Linked DNA regions of Homo sapiens: region 1 is linked to region 2. The links are contacts of gene promoters, found by promoter capture Hi-C in blood cells and fetal thymus (Javierre and others, 2016). All regions are on one chromosome and are shown on one strand. Each heading gives the region's core, a stretch centred on a gene start or on the middle of the fragment in contact. The rest is flanking DNA. Distances are from core to core; before and after follow the strand shown.

Region 1 (5,691 bases), core at 2,493-4,992, 220 kb after region 2:
CTTCTTCTCTACAAAAGAGGTCTCACTGTAAGATGGTGTTATAATTTATATTTCCCTCAGGAGGCCAGGTTTCTCCCCCTTGAAGAGGATATCATGGCCAGGTGGTACTGCAGAAGAATATAAGTCATTTCTTTCTTAGCGTCTGAGGGTCAAATTGGTCCCAAATCTCCAGAATACATCTTAGGGGCGTTTTTGCCTTGTGGGGAACGTTTCCCATTGCTTTGGAGGTCCCTTCGTGGTCGCCAAATGTTACTGGGGGGTCCTTGCTCCCAGAGCTCCCAAGATGGTGGCGGGCCGCTTCCAAGATGGTGGCAAGCCTGGTGTTCTCTGACCTGGGGTTCTTGGCCTCACGAATTCCAAGGAATGGAATCTTGGGCCATGCGGTGAGTTTTATAGCTCTATTAGAAGCCGTGGGTCATGGAAGAGAACTGTGGAACCCAGTGACTAGTGTTCAGCTTGATTAGGATGAACCTGGGCACTTAGCCGTGCAGGAACAATGGCAAACCTTTAGCCTGATTGGGAGCGGCAATGGGCGCCTCGCTGGATCAGGAGCACAGTAGACACCCTGCCGGATCCAGAGGGATGGAAGTCGGCGGCGGGTCTGCGATGGCAGCAAACAGCAGTGGATGTCGAGCGAAAGCTCAGCTCCAGCCATAGCAAACACGGACCAGAAGAGAGTGCAGTTGCAAGATTTAATAGAGTGAAAACAGAGCTCCCATACAAAGGGAGGGGACCCAAAGAGGGTAGCCATTTTTTCACTTTTTTTTTTTAACTTTTGTTGAAAACATTTTAAGTTTGGAATTTCAACTATTCTTTGCTATTAATAAGACCTCATTCAGTCCATATTAACTTAGAATTGGTATAGATGGGTCCTTCCTGATTCTGTAAGTGCTTTAAGGCTTGGCTGAGTGCAAACAGCTCTCACATTTGAACAGGCCAATTATTAGGCAATTTTCCTAACTCTGCTTCTACAAGAGTTTCCTTATCACTTACTGAATACCCATTGTGTCTTTTTCCCTCAATTACCCAGGAGGAACCATCTATCATCCTGTCCTGAAGGGAGTTCTTCCTAGGTCTGGTCGGACCTTTGTATGGTAATTAATTAAGATTTAGATCCCATGTTAGGAAACCTGCTGGGTTAAGGGAATTTTCAGTGGTTAATATTAAATCATTTTTTTCTAACAGAACAGCCTCATACTTTAAGGTTCTTGAGTCAGTAAGCTACCTTTTTTTTTTTTTGACTTAGGATAGTTCTGACCTGATGAGGTGTGCTCACAATGAGGTTTCCTCTAAAAGTTGTTTTTCTACTTTCTTCTGTTAGCAAAGCAGTTGCTGCTACAGATTGAATGCATTTGGGCCATCTGCCGGTTACTGGGTTAAGGAGTTTTGATTAGGGAGGTTACGGGTTGTCAGTGGCCTCAGTGCTTTTGGGCTACATCCTTGTTTACACTGACAACAAGGTGGTATTGGAGTGTTATAGGGTCATGGAGAAGACCTTCAATTATCAATTACAGGTTTTGAATTTTATCCTGGCTTTTAAAGGAATAGGGTACACTGTTTTCTCTTTACTACTTCTATCTCTCTTTCTCTCTCTCTCTCTTTGACTCTCTCTCTCTTTCCCTGTCTCTGACTCCCTCTCTCTCTCTCTTTTTCTTTTGAGACAGAGTCTAGCTCTATCACCCAGGCTGGAGTGCAGTGGCGCGATCTCGGCTCACTGCAAGCTCCGCCTCCCAGGTTCACGCCATTCTCCTGCCTCAGCCTCCTGAGTAGCTGGGACTACAGGCGCCCGCCACCACGCCTGGCTAATTTTTTTGTATTTTTAGTAGAGATGGGGTTTCACGGTGTTAGCCAGGATGGTCTTGATCTCCTGACCTCGTGATCCACCGGCCTTGGCCTCCCAAAGTGCTGGGATTACAGGCATGAGCCACCACGCCTGGCTTCTGTCTTTCTGTCTCTTTCTCTCTCTGCCTCTCTTTCTCTCTCTTTGCCTCTCTCTTTCTCTCCAACTTCCTCTCCCAGTTTCTCTTTCCTCTCTGCTGGTCTTTCCCTGCCTCTGCCAGCTGCTTATGCTGCTGTTCTCCCCTCTCCTTCCCCTTCCCCTAGGGAAGGGACCGTCAGGAGTGCAGCTACTTTTTCTTCCCCGAGAAGAAAGGAAAGGGGAATTCTGAATATTTTTCTTACTACCGGAGGTTTGTGTGAGGTTTTTGATCCCCTGAAATTTGTGGAAGGCTCAACACCTCAAACCAGGGGGTATCTTGCCTTGCCTGACCTGGAAGGCTCAACCCCTCAAACCAGGGGGTGTTTTGCCTTGCTGCCCTGGAAGGCTCAATCCCTCAAACTAGGAGGTGTCTTGCCTTGCTTCCCTGGAAGGTTGACCTGTTTCCTCCCTTTCCCCCTCTGAAGGTCCTTTGCACACTTCCCACTCGTGTTGTCCTCTCTGGCTGCTCCCCCAAGGGAGAATTAGGCCCCCCTCAGCATTGGCATTCCAGTAGAAATCCCACCGCAGGATCCTCCCTAAGCCATATGAGGTAGCTACGGAAACGTGGAGAGGACCCACTCACTCCGTCCAGCAGTAGGACTTGTCATCATCCACACGAACAACACCACAGGTAGGGTTGTTTGTGATCATTCACGCACACACACATTTAGCCCTCCAGAATTTGACCACCAAGGAAGTACCTTACCGGCTCCCTCGGCTTCTTCCTTTGTCTGTGCACAGAGTTGTCTCTGCAGTGTGTGAGGATGCTTTACCCTAGGTTGCCTGCTGGTTTCTTTTCACATTGCTGAGAGCTCAGGTTATTTCTTGCACTGGGTGAGTCCTGATTTCTCACCCCTGAGGCCATCACAAGAGGGTGGGGCATACCTCCTCAGGAGAGAGAACCAGAGACTGCCCCTGAAGGGGAATGTAATCACGAGCAAGCCCCCAAATTGTTATAAATAAAGTTTCCCCCCAGTGCCGCAAAAGAAATAGCACTCGAATATAAAATTTTCTTTTTTTTCTTCTCAGCAAGGCAATTTACTTCTATAGAAGGGTGCGCCCTCACAGACGGAGCAAAGGTGAGCGCACACCTGGACAAGGGAGGGGAAGGTGGTTCTTATGCCTGACCCACGTGATTCCTGATGCTGTGTCCTTCCCCTGTTGGCTAGGGTTAGACCTATAGGCTAAACTAATTCCGATTGGCTAATTTAAAGACAGTGAGGGGGTGAGTGGTTTGGCGGGAAAAATGGTTACCGCAGAGCAGGAAATCGGAATGAACCACGGTGAAGAATGAGTGAGGGAGGAGCAGGTAATCGAAAAATGTTGCTTTATGAGGAAGTTAAGTTTAAAAGTAGAAGGCAAAGAATTGAAGATACTGACATATTGATTCTTTTAAGATAAATTTAGAACTCATATCTAACAGCTGGCATGTCTGGCATGGGGCTCCGGCTGGGGCGCAGTCTTCAGCATTTGGGGCTCTGGGGTGCAGGGGGCAGAGGACGGCCGGGGCTGTGGTGCCCAACCGGTGCTAAACTCAAGCTTGGGAGGTCGCCCACGAGAAACAGTCGCCCTTCCCCACCCGCCTGCTCGGCTTGGCGGGGAGCGGGATGTCGCTGGGGGCGATGCCAGGCGGGCCGCCTCTGATAGCCTCTAGGCTCTGGCGCGCTTCCCCGCCCCTCCCGCGCAGGCGGGCGTGGGATCCCGGCTGATCCAGTCCGGGTTTTGCGGCGGAGCGGGCGGGCTGCGCGTGCGGCGGCTTCAACTGTCGCGGTAGGCAGCAGCAGGCTGAAGGGATCATGGTGCAGTACGAGCTGTGGGCCGCGCTGCCTGGCGCCTCCGGGGTCGCCCTGGCCTGCTGCTTCGTGGCGGCGGCCGTGGCCCTGCGCTGGTCCGGGCGCCGGACGGCGCGGGGCGCGGTGGTCCGGGCGCGACAGAGGCAGCGAGCGGGCCTGGAGAACATGGACAGGGCGGCGCAGCGCTTCCGGCTCCAGGTGACTGCCGGAGCGTAGTGGGATGGGCGCGGCCTGAGGGTACTCGCAGCGGCACTTTCAGCCGCCGGACCCGCCGAGGGACAGGGGATGGGGCGGGCAGAGCAGATGTGTAACTCTCCAGAATCTCTCCTTGCCCTAAGATATTCCGCACTTTCTGAGCCAGGTAGAGCACGGGGGAAGAAAGGAAACGGTAGTGTCAAGGCAGGTGGTGGAAGGCCTTTCCCTCACTGGGTCAAAGAGGAGTTTTGCTTTGTGCCAAAGAATCTCACGATTGCTGCCTATTGGAATGCGAAAACGCAAGCGTGACAACCAGTGGGATGCCAGGGGTTGAGGACTTTGGAATCGCAGAGTGTAATGGCCAAGGGGATCTGGAGAGCTTAGAGTTTTGTTTTTTGTTTTTTTTTGTTTTGTTTTGAGACGGAGTCTCGCTCTGACTCCCAGGCAAGAGTGCAGTGGTGCGATCTCGGCTCACTGCAACCTCCGCCTCCCGGGTGCAAGCGATTCTTGCTGCCTCAGCATCCCCAGTAGCTGGGATTACAGGGGCCCGCCACTACGCCTGGCTAATTTTTGCATTTTTAGTAGAGACTGGGTTTCACCATGTTGGCCAGGCTGATCTCAAACGCCTGACCTCAGTTGATACACCTGCCTCGGCCTCCCAAAGTGCTGGGCGTGAGCCACCGCGCCTGGCTGAGTTCAAGCTTCTTGATTTGTGCATTTGGATCCTAAGAGGGAGCCAGAAAGAAACCTGCCAAGTGCACAGGGAGATCTTGGCAAAGCCAGGCTAGAAGGGAAGTCTCTCTGGCTCCTGCTGTGGTGTCCAACCCCTGGCAAGCCCTTTCCATGAGCAGGTTTAGTTCCAGCCCTCCGTGGGTGGTCTGTCAACAAGCTTTTCTCCCTGCGCTGCCTTTGGATCACCTCAGTATGTGGGTTTGGAGGCGTGGAAGGGCCTGGCTGAGGGTTTGGAAGATGTGGCTTGAAGAGGGGCTTTTCCTCTGGGTGTGTGAAACACTGACCCCAGTTAAAGCCTTCTTATGTGCTGAGAGAGGGAGGGCTTGCTGTATCTGTGGGACCTGACAGGTGGGAAGGCTTTACAGGTTGGGAACCGCAGGACTCAGGAGGGTGTGCCTGGGTGGGAGACAGAAAGAGTCACAGAAAATTGTGTTCAGCAGATGTTCCGCAAGTGATTTTTGAGTTGGGGCAGAGCTGGAACTAGAACCTAGGTGCCCGCTGCACTCTGCAGCCACACTTTCGTGGAGAGGAACAGGAGAGAGATATGAGGAAGGCACCTTGCATGCCAGCCCAGGGTGTAGCCCTGCATGTTGAAGGGGGCCAGCCCCTCCACACCTGTGGGTATTTCTCCTCAGGTGGGACAAGAGACTGAGAAAAGAAATAAGACACAGAGACAAAGTATAGAGAAAGAACAGTGGGCCCAGGGGACCACCGCTCAGTATAGGGAGGACCCGCGCCAGCACTGGTCTCTGAGTTCCGTCAGTATTTATTGATCACTATCTCTACCATCTCGGTGAGGGGGATGTGGCAGGACTATAGGGTAATGGTGGGGAAAGGGTCAACAGGAAAACATGTGAGCAAAGGACTCTGTGTCATAAGTTTAAGGAAAGGTGCTGTGCCTTGATGTGTATGTAGGCCAGATTTATGTTTGACTTTATACAAGCATCTCAGTGCAGTAAACAACAGTATTGTCACCAGCATGTCTCACCTCCA
Region 2 (5,931 bases), core at 3,232-5,731:
AGACGGGGCTTCACCATATTGGCCAGGCTGGTCTCAAACTCCTGACCTCAGGTGATCCACCAGCCTCAGCCTCCCAAAGTGCTGGGATTACAGGCGCGAGCCACCGCGCCTGGCCCTGCCTGGTTTAAGCTTATGTGTCCCAGGCTCCCTACCTCCCCTCAGTGTTCATGTGTGGACACCTTTGCCTATCCCCAGCAGGAAATCCTCTAGTTTAGACAGCCACCTGAATGTAAGGGCTTTATTAATTGATTTCTCAAGATGTCCATTTCAAGGATATTCTAATTTTGTCATCTGGAACTCAGTAATGCCACAATTCTGAATTTCTTAGTTTCTATAACCCAGATTTTACCATGCTGGAATTCTGTGATGCTAAGATTCCATAACTGTGAACTCCATGAATCTAGAATTTCATGATTTTTTAAAATTGTGTTTAATGAATTTTGTTGGTAATAGTAGTCAGCACTCTCTTGGCCTCAGTTTTGTGTTTGTTTTCTAGAAGTTGCAAGTCTCAGCTCCAGGCTCTCTTCTCTGGGCATGCCGGTGCAGAGGAAGGTCATTTCCACCTCTCCCGAGGCTCAGGGGTTGGGATAGTACCCAGGGAAGCCCAGTCCTAGGGCCCAACACTCAGTCTACTCCCTCTCTACTGAAAACTCTTACTTGGGCTTCAGTACCTGAGGGTAGCAGGAAAAGCAGTCTCCTTTGCAGTCCTTCCACCCAGCTTCCTGTCCTCCTTGCACTGCCCCATGGTCCAGGGAGAGAAAGTTTTGTGGGAGACTGCCCTGGCTGAATGGGTAGGTGTGGGAAGAAGGGTTAAGCACTGGGCAGAGAGCCAGTGGAGGAACCAGGGGACATTCCCTAGGGAGCCCTGCAGCCTTCCCCAGAGGTGAGGAAGGAACAGAGGCCGGAAGTGGGGGTGTGGGTGAGGGCACTGGTAAGGGTGGGGTGACCGGTATTGCATTGTGGGGTTGGAGCTGGGCTTCCGGCCATTGACCTATTAGTGACAAGCGACCTCCAGCCTGGCGCCCCAGGGGCTGTCTGTTCGTGCCCTTACCCACTGACTCTGTGTTCCTGTGCCTGAGTCAGACTCCCAGGAAAATCTCGGGGGCAGGAGTTGGGGTCTGGGGAACCTATTTCTCTAGAGCGGAGCCACAGAGGCGAAGAGAGGGGCCAGGACACTCCAAGGATCAGATCAGGGCTTGGGGCAGAACCAAGACTGAAGCTCCGGGCTCCTGCCTCTAGCCCAGAGCTGTTCTCTTCACGGTCCAAAGGGTCCCAGAATTATAAAGTAATACTCCCCCAACTAGCCAGGTGGTGAAACTCAGGGCTAGAGGAAGAGCCCGTGCTAGGCTGCCTCCCAGGAGCAGCCTGGACCTTCTTCCAGTCCTGCAGCACATGGCTGAAGCTGCCAAACCCGATTTTCCAGTGGCTGCCTGAGGCTGGCTGGAGCGGGAAGCCCTCCTCCTGGCATGAACCCTCAGGCCATCATCCTCCTCCCCCTCACCTCCCGATTCGGTGGCTTGGCCTGGCCTGCTCCTCCTGCACCTGTGCCAACTGTCCCAGTGTGCCACCACTTCCTTCTCCACCTGCCTGCCATCTCCCCTGGGCTGCTCCCCAGGCACTGTGAGGTGTGGTCCAGAGCTGTCCATTTCTGAGCCTCGGTTTTCTCATCTATAGATGAGGAATAGTGGCCTGCCTCCCAGGGATTGACTACAGGAAGATTTCAAAGAAAAGTGAGGTGGTAGGGGGCAAGCAGTAGCTCACGTCTGTAATCCCAACATTTTGGGAGGCTGAGGCGGGAGGATCACTTGAGCCCAAGAACTGGAGTGCAGTGGCATGATCTTGGCTGCAACCTCCACTTCCCAGGTTTAAGTAATTCTCGTGCCTCAGCCTCCTGAGTAGCTGGGAGAACCTGTTTCTACAAAAAAAATGTTTTAATTATCTAGGCGTGGTGGCCTGCACCTGTAGTACCAGCTACTTGTGGGACTGAGGTGGGAGGATAGATTGTGCCCAGGAGACTGAGGCTGCAGTGAGCTAAGGTCAGGTCACTGCACTCCAGTATGAGTGACAGAGAGAGACCCTGTCCCTAAAAACTAGGCAGGGGAAAGGGCTGAGCCAGGTGGCTCATGCCTGTAATCCCTGCACTTTGGAAGACTGAGGTAGATGGATCACTTTAGGCCAGGAGTTCAAGACCAGCCTAGCCCACATGGCAAAACCCCATCTCTACTAAAAATACAAAAATTAGCCAGGCATGGTGGCACATGCCTGTAGTCCCAGCTACTAGGGAGGCTGAGGCACGAGAATCACTTGACTCTGGGAGAAGACGGTTGCAGTGAGACAAGATTGCGCCACTGCACTCTATCCTGGGCAACAGAGCCAGGCGCTGTCTCAAAAAAAAAAGAAAAGAAAAAAGAAACAAACAAACAAAGAAAAAGGAGATATGAGTATCATGGGCCACCAATTAGTTGGATGGTGTGTTAGTGCCATGTTGGGAGCACAGCCTAGGGTGTGAGAAGGAAGCACTGCTCTGTGGAATTCTGGAGATATGGTTGTTAGGATGAAGGGTGCAAGGTAAGGGCTGTATTCCCTCTGATTTCCTCAGGTTATCTCACCTATGGGAGAAGGAAGAACAGAGAGAGGCAGAGAACATCATCGCAAACGGAGCCCCTGTTACAAGTACTCAGAGACCTCCTCACGATTTAATGAAGAGCTTGTGTAATCTGTGTAATGTGCCTCTCACTGAGCTATAATTCCTCTGGGAAAGAACTCCCACTGCCTTGCTCACTGCTGTATCTCCAGAATTTAGTACCATCCCTGGCACATAGCAGGCACTGTTGACTGACACAGAGTTGCAGATTGAAAAGCAGAAGCAGAGGCACCTTAAGGGGTGGAGACCATCTAGGTCAGCTCAGCTAACCCAGGCCCTTCCAGCCTGAGAGCCTGGTGTTCTCAGCCACCAGGGAACTCTGGCAGGGTGGGAGAGAGTGGGCTGCACCCGCTCATCCGGGAGCCACCTAAACTGAGGTGGTGGGTGCCCTCTGGCTGCTGCTGCCTCTGGGAGCCTAGATGGGGAGGAGAATTAGGAACCTGAAGGGGGAGGGGCAGTGAAGAAGCCATCATCGCAGATACAGCTAAAAATAGCTGGAAGAGATGATGTCATCTGGTTCCCACAGCTTAGCACCCCCATCATACACACACTCGAGCACAAACACACACTCTCACAGACACAGATACACACAGACACAAGTGTGGGCATGAGTGCATGCACACACACATACTACACACTCATATAGGGGAGGGAGGCTTCTGGGTCCCAGGGCCGCAGGGGCAGGGAAGTCTGGTGAGTGTGTCTGCATGCGTGTATGTCTGTGTGTGCCTGGGTTTGCATGAGTGTGAAGGCATGTGTCTGCATCTGGGTGCTTGTGTGCTTGTGTCTGGGTGCATGCATGTTTCTGTCTGTGTTCATTTAGAGGCATGCGTATGTGTTGTTACATATATCGTGTGGGGATCTATGCATTTGTGTCTGCGTATATCTGCTTATAGTATGTGCTTGCATGCATGTGTGTGGTTGTTGCAGTATGTGTCTATGAGTTCACTTATATTTACATGTCTGCATGTGTTTGTGAACTGTGTCATGTATCTTTATATGTATGGCCCCTCTTGGGCCCTTGAGCATGGCCCAAGCACCTTCTAGCTTTGACTGATGTTCAGCAACCCCCATCCCATAACCTGAGGAGCCCAGCACCGTCTGGGCATGGTGTGTCAGTGAATTCTCTGCCTCAACCCCCCTCAGGGTCCCAGTCTCTGGCAAGAGTTGGGGTAGATAGACATAAGCACAATTCACTTTCCCTTCACAGGCAGCAAAGGACATTAGCCACACTTCCTGAACCCCAGGGGGCCAGGCCACCAAAGGTCTCAGGGTTCACTCCCTTCCCTAGCCCCTTGGGAAGGTAGCCTGGAAATGCAGCCAGATCTCGGACCGGTGCAACACGTATTAGCCCATGCATGATGCAACATATTCGAGACAGAGTCCTACAAAATGTTCCCAGCGACTAAGACACAACCCCACAGAAACCCGGTTACAGCCAGTGACACATGAGCACACACTCAGAAATCCAAATGGAAAATCCCCAGGCCAGAGAGCTTAGCACCCTCCCTACTTTCTGGGCTCAAACTCAGTCTTGCCCCACCCCTAAGCACCCCAGCTCAGCTGCCAGTTCTGGAAAACACTGACCTCAGAGAATGGTTGAAGGGCCGAAGGTAGTATGCCTTTCTCAGAATCTCACCCTTCTCCATGTTCTCCTCCTTTAGGCTGTTCCCCATCCCCCTCCTGACCTTCACTTTTCTTACCAGGGCTGATGTCCTCTCCGGCACACCCATACCCTCACAAACGCTCCTTGACACTCACAGTCAGTCACAGAGGCACATTAAATCACAAAGGCACATTCAGCCACATCTACTGATACTCCTATTCTCCCGGCCTCAGACACACACACCAGCAGCTACACCTACACGCTGACCATCACAGGCACACAGAGGCACATCCACCTCACATCCACCTCATACTTGTGTACTCTCAGGGTTCAGTCTTTCATCCTATCCCTCTCTGATCTGTGCCTCCCAATACCTTCCAAGATGTTTACAGAGACCCTTCTCCCTGTGCAGTTAGGAGTGTAAGGCAAGAGAGCCCCTACTTCATGGGGCAGATCAAGAGCTGAGACCAAAGATGGTCTATGTTGCTGACCTTGTCCTGTCCTCCTGCTGTCTTAAACTATGATCCCTGCTGCGGTCACTGAAGCCTTTCCCTGTAAGTATTCAGCCATAACCCTCCCCTCACGCCCTGCATAGTCAGCTGGTTAACACCTCTGTGTGGAATAAGGCAGTTTGAGCAGAATGACTGTATTTGTTGTTCACCACCCACACGGCCCCTAGGAGATGCAGGTCCAGGGCAAACCAAGCTTCTGGGCTAGCTTCTGGGCACTTCTAGAGGATCAGAAAAATCCCAGGTTGCCTGAGATGTCTGAGAACTGAGGAGAGGAAGGAGAGGGAAGAGTTTGAGGAAGGAAGCAGTTCTGGAAGTTCCCTGCCTCTTGGATTCAGCCCCTCCCCAAACCCTCTGCTTCCAGCCAATCCATCCTCCATTAAGGCTGTCAGCACTTTGGGGTGCCTGCCATCAGGAGTCCCCCATATATGTAGGGGTGCTATTTCACAGAGATCATCCTTTGGCGTGCCTAAACAGAACCAGGTAGGGAAATCTTCACTGGCTCTGGTTTTTTTTTTTTTTTCTTGAGACAGAGTCTAGCTCTGTCACCCAGGCTGGAGTGCAGTGGCGCGATCTTGGCTCACTGCAACCTCTGCCTCCCGGGTTCAAGCAATTCTCCTGCCTCAGCCTCCCAAGTAGCTGGGACTAAAGGCGTGTGCCACCACGCCCGGCTAATTTTTTTTTGTATTTTTAGTAGAGATGGGATTTCACCGTGTTAGCCAGGATGGTCTCGATCTCCTGACCTTGTGATCTGCCCGCCTTGGCCTCCCAAAGTGCCGGGATTACAGGCATGAGCCACCGCACCCAGCCTAGTGGCTCTGTTTTTTAAAACCCCACCCTGGCTCACAGGCCCCCTGGCTAACCTTGAGGTGGGAAGATCCACACTATGGTGGTGTCAGTGTGGGTGTTGTTGATACCCATGGCCCTGGTGGCAGGATTGATGGCTGCACTGCTGGCAGTTCGACCTCGGAGACCCTGTTGATATCTTCTGCGGCTACACTTGAACATCCTGGGAAATCGGGGCCTGGGCCAGCCCATACCTGGCCTGCGGTAGGGGGAACGCATGCCCTGGGGCCGAGGGCCACGGACAAGCCGAGATGGCCCCATGGGCACAGGGAGCTTCTGCAGTGTGCCTGGGGGGTGCTGTTGGCCAGGGTAGCTGAGGCCTCTAT

The links. The method cuts DNA at HindIII sites, captures the fragments that hold promoters and counts their contacts. A CHiCAGO score of 5 or more calls a contact.
Region 1: a contact is called between the fragment with the promoter of FAAH here and the fragment with the promoter of TSPAN1 in region 2, in 3 of 17 cell types (neutrophils, total B cells and non-activated CD4 T cells). The highest score is 8.5, in neutrophils.

What each region holds. Positions count from the first base shown.
Region 1 is chr1:46,390,575-46,396,265 of GRCh38, forward strand. FAAH (fatty acid amide hydrolase) reads left to right here and starts at 3,743. Exons shown (of 15, transcript NM_001441.3): 1 at 3,743-3,969. The coding sequence starts at 3,775. RefSeq lists an enhancer at 3,631-4,144. The HindIII fragment of the contact is 1,150 bases long and covers 3,516-4,665 here.
Region 2 is chr1:46,170,606-46,176,536 of GRCh38, forward strand. TSPAN1 (tetraspanin 1) reads left to right here and starts at 4,482. Exons shown (of 9, transcript NM_005727.4): 1 at 4,482-4,804. It overlaps P3R3URF-PIK3R3 (P3R3URF-PIK3R3 readthrough), which reads right to left and starts at 5,883. Exons shown (of 10, transcript NM_001303427.2): 1 at 5,623-5,883. The coding sequence starts at 5,866. It overlaps P3R3URF (PIK3R3 upstream open reading frame), which reads right to left and starts at 5,883. Exons shown (of 2, transcript NM_001328655.2): 1 at 5,623-5,883; 2 at 4,881-5,024. The coding sequence starts at 5,866. The coding sequence ends at 4,981. It also overlaps a transcript of PIK3R3 not described here. The HindIII fragment of the contact is 4,826 bases long and covers 128-4,953 here.